3 separate regions of the Homo sapiens genome follow, and regions 2 and 3 are each linked to region 1. The links are contacts of gene promoters, found by promoter capture Hi-C in blood cells and fetal thymus (Javierre and others, 2016). All regions are on one chromosome and are shown on one strand. Each heading gives the region's core, a stretch centred on a gene start or on the middle of the fragment in contact. The rest is flanking DNA. Distances are from core to core; before and after follow the strand shown.

What was found. Contacts are between HindIII fragments. The CHiCAGO score rates a contact against its expected background, and 5 or more counts as called.
Region 2: a contact is called between a fragment that was not itself captured here and the fragment with the promoter of CCSAP in region 1, in 1 of 17 cell types (total CD8 T cells). The highest score is 5.8, in total CD8 T cells.
Region 3: a contact is called between a fragment that was not itself captured here and the fragment with the promoter of CCSAP in region 1, in 3 of 17 cell types (total B cells, naive B cells and M2 macrophages). The highest score is 7.4, in total B cells.

Annotation. Positions count from the first base shown.
Region 1 is chr1:229,341,657-229,344,707 of GRCh38, forward strand. It overlaps CCSAP (centriole, cilia and spindle associated protein), which reads right to left and starts at 1,391. Exons shown (of 4, transcript NM_145257.5): 1 at 1,256-1,391; 2 at 443-857. The coding sequence starts at 809. RefSeq lists silencers at 440-639, 840-1,699, 2,546-2,840. The HindIII fragment of the contact is 1,840 bases long and covers 15-1,854 here.
Region 2 is chr1:229,503,165-229,506,215 of GRCh38, forward strand. NUP133 (nucleoporin 133) reads right to left here. Exons shown (of 26, transcript NM_018230.3): 2 at 2,876-2,994. Among named protein-coding and RNA genes, the nearest start is that of NUP133, 3.7 kb to the right of the region's middle. The HindIII fragment of the contact is 457 bases long and covers 1,310-1,766 here.
Region 3 is chr1:229,476,432-229,479,482 of GRCh38, forward strand. It overlaps NUP133 (nucleoporin 133), which reads right to left. Exons shown (of 26, transcript NM_018230.3): 13 at 1,166-1,329. Among named protein-coding and RNA genes, the nearest start is that of NUP133, 30 kb to the right of the region's middle. RefSeq lists a silencer at 2,560-2,669. The HindIII fragment of the contact is 3,349 bases long and covers 1-3,051 here.

The DNA.
Region 1 (3,051 bases), core at 141-2,640:
CATTCATCAGACAAAGCTTAGCTCTGTGGTTCTTAACCTTTTGGGTTACCTTTGAGAATCTGATTAAAGCTGGGGCTCCTCTGATCAAAAATGGGCGCCTAGAAATAAGCAGATGGGACTCAGTGGTTCGCCAAGAAATAAGATGGGATTCAGAGGTTTGCCAAGCCGCAGAGGCCCGCGAGGAAAGACCCCAGACTCAGCCAGCGGCGCTTCAATTGAGTTCACCGCTGGCTCGACCGAAAGCCACCTAATTAAGGAAATAAAGGGTGGCAAAGGCTGCCACCTTCCCTATTTTGTCAAGAGAGACGGATTCTGTCAACCGAAAAAAAAAAAAGGAAGAGCCAGCCCCGAGTGGCGCAAGAAATAAGAGATCAGCTGCTCAGAGCTTAGAGCAAACCGTCCCTGCGTGCAGGCCCCTCGCGCTCCCCTCCGGGCCGGGTACCTGGCAGAGCCGCGTCCTCCGCGTCCTCGGCCTCCGCGTCCCCGGCCTCCGCGTCCTGCTCCTCCGGGGCCCCGCGCGCCCGCCGTTCCGCCTCCTCCTGGGTCGCCGGCTCTACGGGCGGCGGGGGCGAGGGCGGGGCGCACCGGGGTGCGGGGCCCCCGGCGCCCGACGACTCTGACGACGCCGAGTCCTCCGAGGAGCCGGCCGGGCCCCAGTCGTCCCAGAGCCAGGGCGCGTGCGCCTGCTCCAGCAGCCGGCGGCCTAGGCGGTAGTGCAGCAGCTCGCGGTAGCACGGCCCGTACTCCTCCCAGCGCGGCTCCTGGTAGCGCTTCATGTACTCGCTCTTCACCCCGCTCCCCGGGGACATGGTGCCGTCCGCCGCCTCGAGCGCCAGCCGCTCCTCGCTGCCCGCAGCCTACGGGACCCGGTACACGACACAGAGGCCGCCCCGCCCCTCCGCCGGCCCTGCCCGCCGCGACGTTTAAACCCGGAGCCCCGCCCGGACGGGAGCAGGGGGCGGGTCCCGGCGAGGGCGGGGAGGGGGCGGGGCGGGGGCGGCCTCACCCGGCGGCCGGGACCAAGAGCAGAGGCGGGGACCGGGGCTGCTGGGGTCGAGGGGCGCGCCGCCGAGGAGGGCTGCTCAGTGGGCGGAAGGCAGGGAGGCTGCGGGCTGGGGCGAGGGGACCGCAGGAGACTGGGGCTGAGCGGGAGGAGGAGCGAGGGAGGGGAGCGGCGGGGCCCGTGATCGGGTGGTCCTGGGGTCTCCGGAGGCGTCCCCTGAGCTAGGCGTGCGGTCCCGCGGGGCTGCCTTACCTCCTTCCCGCCGCGCCCGGCCGATCCTCTGCGCCCAGGCCCGAGGCGCGCGTGGCGCAGCAGCTAAAGCGCAGCTCGCTCTCCCGCGCGCTTTCCTCCTGAGCAAGATGTCGCCGCGGCGGCCCGCGCTCCAGCTGCAGGCGGGAGGCGGTGGCGCCGCCTCAGTCCCGGAGCCTCCACGCGCGCTCCCGGCCCCCGGGCCTCCGCCCGCTCCGTGGGGGCGGCTGCTTCCGTAGAGAGCGCGAGGCGCGGGGGTGCGGGCGTGCCTGCCAGTCCGAGGGGCCCAGGCCCAGGTCCCTGGCCCACTTATTTGAGGTGCCCGTCCACCCTGGTCCCAGCAGACGCTGTCCCAGGCACGCGTCACTCTGCAGGAGTCGTCAGTTAGGGGCAAGAGATGATCCCTCCAGATATGCAGCCCCCCCAGGCTGCGGCCGGGGGCGACACTCTCTGTCCTCACTCGAAACCTACCGGTTCTTCCTCTCTGTGTTCACAACACCTGTTACTCTGGCTTTAACTCCCTTTTATATCTACACTCCCCAAATTCTTTTAGATTTTGATCAAAACCATTTCACTCGCTCAGAGATTCGTTTGCACATAAAAGCTTGACAGATTAACTTACGTTGTGCAGAAGTATACAAAGTTGTCCCATTTGTTACAGTTTCAAAAGTGGCCCCACACTCTTTTCCCTTTTTACACATAAAACCTTCACAGATCCAGTTACTTTGTGCAGAAGTATACAACGTTGCCCCATTTGTTACAGTTTCAAAAGTGGCCCCGCACTGTTTTCCCTTTTTGCTCATAAAACCTCCACAGATCCGGCTGAGCGCTGTGGCTCACGCCTGTAATCCCAGCATTTTGGGAGGCCGAGGCGGGTGGCTCACGAGGTCAGGAGATCGAGACCATCCTGGCTAACACAGTGAAACCCCATCTCTACTAAAAAAATAAAAATAAAAAGAATTAGCCCGGCGTGGTGGTGAACGGCTGTAGTCCCAGCTACTCGGGAGCCTGAGGCAGGAGAATGGCGTGAACCCGGGAGGCGGAGCTTGCAGTGAGCCTAGATTGCGCCACTGCACTCCAGCCTGGGCGACAGAGCAAGACTCCGTCTCAAAAAAAATAAAAAATAAAAAATAAAAACCTTCACAGATCCAGTTACATTGTACAGAAGAATACAACGTTGCCCCATTTGTTACAGTTTCAGAAGTGGTCCTGCACTATTTTCCCTTTCTTAAAAAAAGAGCCTTGATACAGTAGCTGCAAAAAGATTTGAAAGGAAAAAACTTTTGGAAAATCTAAATATATATATAGCAGTTAAAAAGCAAGCCCAGGCCGTGAGTAGCGCTCACGGCTTCCACGTCAGGATTCCCACGAATTCACCTACTTTCTACGTGTCCGCATCCTGCCTCCCACCACCACCGCCCACCTCATCATAGCTAAATGATTCAGAGGCGGCTACTGGCCCAAATGGGGCGGGTCAGACCGTCTGCTCTGAAAACTTGAAGTTACTAGTCCAATCATTAGCACGGGATTGTGTTAATGGCAGTTTTCTGGACGGAAACTCCAGGATACCCTGCTGCTAATGAGTCCGCGGACGCCATGATTTCTCCCCTTCCCAACTTTATTTTCTGTTCCTTGACTTACATTAGGGACATTCTAATGCACTTTCCTTTTGTTTAAGCTGGCTGGGGTTGGTTTCTGATGTTTGCAACCAAAGTAGCCTTAATAAAGATTGAATAAGGTGGGGAAATGGTTATATGTAGTTCTATGGGACATGCAGGACACCATCGGTTTCAGCTTTT
Region 2 (3,051 bases), core at 288-2,787, 160 kb after region 1:
CTACTCGGGAGGCTGAGGCAGGAGAATTACTTGAACCTGGGAGGCAGAGGTTGCATTGAGCTGAGATCGCGCCACTGCACTCCAGCCTGGGCAACAGAGCAAGACTCTGTCTCAAAACAAACAAACAAAAAAGAAATATTTAGCAACATTTATAATTATATCGATAAAGTAAAACAAATAACAAACTCATTAACTATATAAAACATTTCAAGGAAAACAATGTGCTTTTGGAGGACCAAAAGCACATAATTTTCAAATAAGAGCTCCTTAAAGGAATGATAAATTATTTAGTACATGGAGACAAAGAGTTACGTTCTCTATTAAGTGACAAAACTAAATTAGCACATATCTTAAGTATTGGTGGTAAACCTCCACAAATGTGTTAACAGCCCTGGAAATTTTATTAAGTTGAGCTTTGCTCTTTACTTACAGAAAGGTAGAAGGGTGAAGTAAAAGGCATAGACAATGTACAAGCAAAAATATCAAACCAAGCCCAGGCTGAGTGAGGCTTTTTGCTCAACTGAACTATCTGCTCAGTAATTTTCTTTTTCTTGAAAGCACTACAACTCCAGATCCTCGACCGGTGTGCCTTTAAGGGCTGACTTAACAGTAGTTGGCAGGTTTCTAAGTGGGGAAGAGTTCTTCAAGTTGACACACCTCTTTGTTTTATATATCCTAATTTCTAAGGACTCTCTGAATTTCTAGATTTGGGGCTGTGTTATTTAATCTAGTCTGTTAAAATATGAGTAGTACATTAAAAGGTTTAAATGTAAACTGAAATTTTTAGAGGGGAAAAATATACACATATATACCAATATATATATATACATTTATTTATTTAAAACAGAACAATGTATAGAAAGGTTAGTAGTTGTCTGAAAACAACTATCCCTAAAGCTCCCAAGGACCTACAGGCAAGATGTGCCAAGTTCCAGTTGATGAGATATATTCCTTCTTCTAAAACAGAGTAATTTCAGCATTTTTTTTTTACTGTTATTAAGTTATACAGTAAATAGAGTTATTCACAGTATAATACATTTTACATCACGATACACCCATATACAATTTAAGTAAAACGAACAAAATTTACTAAACATATGAGATGCATTCTATTTCTTCTTTTTTTAAATGCTGGTCAAGAACCGCTAAATTTTGGTCACCCCTACAATTTGAAAAATACTGTTCCAGAAAAATCACAAAGATCTAGAATTCAAGCCTTAATAAAAATGACTTCAGCAGATATTAAGGCTGCTCTGAACTTTGCTCTTCCAGTGTCATCCAACTGCTCATCTTTAAAGTTGCCTTTCTAAGCTTGTGTTGATTGTATCTGTCAAAATTCCACACTAATTCTCCACCAACAGACGCTTCTAAAGGTACACCACGACAATGGTAACGTCATAAATTTGTGCACACAGCCTCTGGGATGCTACATAGGATCCAGAAATGGAGGTAGGACTTGATTTTACTGTATTATTAAACCCAATAACATGAGGTGCCAGTTTTGGGGTTTCACGGGAAACTTCATAAACCTGATCAACTCTGTAAACAGGACTGAATTTTGCATATACAGTATTTCCCCCTTTTATCTGCAGTTTCAAATACCTGTGGTCAATCGTAGTCTGAAAATATTAAATGGAAAATTCAAATGAACAATTCCTAAGTTGTAAATTGCATGCTGTTCTGGGTAAAGTGATAAAATCTCATACTGTCCTGCCTAAAGGTTGTGAATCAACCCTTTGTGCAGCATATCCATACTGTATACCCCAAGCTTGTCCAACCCATGGCCCAGGGACACGTGTGGCCCAGGACAGCTTTGAATGCGGTCCAACACAAGTTTGTAAACTTTCTTAAAACATGATAAGATTTATACACAGACCTTTTCATTATTTATTTTTAGCTCATCAGCTATCGTAAGTGTATTTTATGTGTGACCCAAGACAATTCTTCTTCCAAGTGGCCCAGGGAAGCCAAAAGATTGGACACCCCTGAGACTATCCAGCTGTTTGTCACTTAGTAGCTGTCTCAGTTACCAGATGAACTGTCGCAGTAATGCAATGCTTATATTCTCATTTTAGTTAATGACCCCAAACGAAGTACAAGAGTAGTGCTGCTGGTATATTGTTATAATTGTTCTACTTTATTATTACTGTTGTTCATCTTTACTGTTCCTAATTTATAAACTAAAGTTTATCATAGGTGTGTATGTATTAAAAAAACACAGTATATATAAGGTTTAGTACTATACAAGGTTTCAGGCATCCACTGGGGATCCTGGAAGATATCCCCCAAAGATAATGGGGGACTACTGTACAGTACCTAAAACCATTAAAGACTTAATTTGATTGTGTTCAAATGAACTCATTCTCCTTCTCGAATGTATTATACATCTCAATTACAGTTAAAAAAAAAAAAAAAAAAAAAAAAAAAAACTAAGACAGGTGGCCAGATGTGGTGGCTCACGCCTGTAATCCCAGCACTTTGGGAGGCCAAGGAGGGCAGATCACCTGAGGTCAGGAGTTCAAGACCAGCCTGGCCAACATGGTGAAACCCTGTCTCTACTAAAAATACAAAAAATTAGCTGGGCGTGGTGGCTCACACCTATAATCCCAGCTACTTGGGAGGCTGAGGCAGGAAACTCGCTTGAACCTGGGAGGTGGTGGTTGCAGTGAGCTGAGATCACACCACTGCACTCCAGCCTGGGTGACAGAGTGAGACTCTGTCTCGAAAAAATAAAAATAAAAAAACACTAGACAGGCCACCCATCTCTCACCATTTACGTAAAGGTATACTAGAGAAAACATAAATTTAATCTCTATGCCACATCTAGGCTCCATTTTAAACTGCTAATATAGGTAAATGGAAAGATGACACCTACCTTCAGCCAATGTTAGGGCTTCCATGACTTTAACAGGAAGAGAAGATCCAAACGTTTTCACATCATAGTTCACAGACTCAGTTATGGAGTGGTGTGGGAACATTCGTGTTGGTGTTCCCCTAAAGAAAAGAGTCTATATTACCTTACTTGTAACTTAAAATTCTCCATTATCCTAA
Region 3 (3,051 bases), core at 290-2,789, 130 kb after region 1:
CCTGGTATCTGGGGACCCCAGAGTTCCCCTCGAGTTTCTGAGGTGGAAGTAAGAGTAAGAGGGGCAGTCACCTGGGACAGGCAGCTAGACATGTCTTGTCCACTTCTACATATTGACATTTGATCACTGCTGCTCTTAGGGGAATGGATCATTTCTATTAGTCAAATATACTGATTATGCCAAAATTATCATTTAATTTGGGGGTAAGTAGGCTGGGTGTGGTGGCTTACACCTGAAATCCCAGCACTTTGGGAGATCAAAGCGGGTGGACCACCTGAGGTCAGGAGTTCAAGACCAGCCTGGCCAACATGGTAAAACTACATCTCTACTAAAAATACAAAAATTAGCTGGGCATGGTGGTGCACACCTGTAATCTCAGCTACTCAGGAGGCTGAGGTGGGAGTATCACTTGAACCCAGGAGGTGGAGGTTGCAGTTAGCTGAGATCGTGCCACTGCATTCCAGTCTGGGTGACAAAGTAAGGGAGACCCTGTTTCCAAAAAAAAAAAACAAAAAAAAAAACTGGGATTGGGGGGCAGGTAAGTGCCAACTGTCTACCTATGCAACCAATTTTCTTTTAGAAATAAAAGCCAGGAAAGCTAAGTAAGGCAATTAATCTGCCTTGGATAGAACAATTAGGATTTGCTCCAATGTTCCTTTAGTTTCCATTCTGTTATCTAGACCTGTTCTGACCCTTTTTCAAAACATACTATAAGGAAGGTTACCTGGCCGGGCCTGGTGGCTCACACCTGTAATCCCAGCACTTTGGGAGGCCGAGGTGGGTGGATCACGAGGTCAGGAGATCAAGACCAACCTGGCTAACACAGTGAAACCCCGTCTCTACCAAAAATACAAAAAAATTAGCCAGCCATGGTGGCGGGCACCTGTAGTCCCAGCTACTCGGGAGGCTGAGGCAGGAGAATGGCGTGAACCTGGGAGGTGGAGCTTGCAGTGAGCCAAGATCGCGCCACTGCACTCCAGCCTGGGTGACAGAGCCTTGCTCTGTCTCAAAAAAAAAAAAAAAAAGGAAGGTCACAATATTTTAAAAAATATTGAATTAATATTAAATTGTTTGAGAAGCTAAAAAATATGCTTTAAGAGATGCTTCTAATAAAGAAACCAGAATATGTTCAAAACACACCGTTCCATAATTGAAACATTCTTACCCTCAGGGACAGACTCAGCCCACCGTGGGTCAGATGCTGGGTAGTCATCCATCAGGTCTACACTGATTTGGGTAACTGCCCTGTCTAGTTCAGAATCAGAATCCAAATCAGAGTGAGAGGAAAAGAGCTCATCAACCACCATTTGAGCATGACCTAAATCTTTTCTGAAATAAAATTGGAAAACACAAGTATTAAGGGAGGCAAAATATTTTCAAAACTCACCAAGAAAAAATTAATTATGGACTACTATTCAGCCAAAAAAAAGAATGCGATCCTGTCATTCGCAACAGTAGGGATGGAACTGGAGGACATGTTAAGTGAAATAAGTCAGGCACGAAAGACATGTAACAAACTTTACATGTTCAATAATTTAGTGTACATTTTAAAGTAACTAAGAGCATAATTAGAATGTTCACAACATACAAAAAAGATGAATGCTTGAGGTGACGGATATCCCATTTACCCTGATGTGATTATTACGCATTGTATGCCCGTATGAAAATATCTCATGTACCCCACAAACGTATACACCTACTATGTACCCATAAAAATAAAAAAAAAATTTTAAGTTAATTGTGAAGTTAAATGTAACCTAAAAACCATTTATAGGTTTTGGCTCAAAGTTACTTTTAATAAAATTTATTTAATTAAAAGGGAGAAAACTATTATCCATTCATTAATTCAATAAATACACATTGAATACTTAGAACATGCTCGGCTCTGGACACAGAAAGATAAAAAGACTTAAAAATAGTCCAGACAATTGAGCAAGCAATGACACAGGTGATAAACACCGAGAGAGACAGGGAAAACTTCCTAACAGGTAAAGAGGAGGTCATGGAAGGCTGGGGAGAACTGGGGGAGGGGTATACAGCTGCACACAGAACATACATCCACATCCGTCCGCAAGTAAGCCTCTATCTCAGGAGAGAACTGAGGCTACGGGAGAGGCTGAGATCACCCAGGGAGCAAGAGTTTGGAAAAAACTTGCAGGATAACCAATTAAAGGAAGGGTAAGCCCATAAAAAGCAGCAGACTCTTCTAACTTAGAGAGATTAGGGGACAACTAGGGTGTCAATGAACCCACCAGGGGATTAACTATGGCACACATGAAGAAACGAGGGATACTGAGAAGGGATGAATCACAAAATTAGAGGACACGGTCTTGTAAACCATGTTATGGGGTTTGAACCTAATACCAAGGACAATGGACAGGCACTGTAAAGGAGTGTCACAGTCTGTTCCAGTGTCCCAAAAGATTGCTCTATCATATGGAGAGGGGATCAGATGTCAGATCAGACAAGAGAAAAATCCAGTTAGGAGGTTACTGCAGAAAGGAAAAGACAGGAAAGAGAAAAATCCAGTTAGGTTACTGCTGGATCTGATGTACAGTAGTCCCCTCTTATTCATGGTTTCACTTCCCACAGTCACAGTTACCTGCAGTCAACTGCAGTCTGAAAACAGATGACAGAGACAGAGAGAGAGAGAGAGACCAACCACACTCACATATTTTTATTACAGTACAGTCATCTCTCAGTATACACAGGGGATTAGTTACAGGACCCCCAACATACACCAAAATCCACCCATATTCAAGTCCTGCAGCTGGCTCTGTGGAGCTCCAGCATACAAAAAGGCGACCTTCTGCATAAGCAAGTGAATTTCTGATCCGCATTTGGTTGAAAACATGCTGTGAATTTTTGATCCGCATTTGGTTGAAAACAGCCTGCATATTATGTAGACCCACACAGTTCAAAGCCGTGTTGTTCAAAGGTCAATTGTATATTGTTACGGTTGTTTTATTACTATTGTTCTTAATCTCTTAGGATGCCCAATTTATAAATTAAACTTCATCATAGGTACTATAGGAAAAACGTATATATATG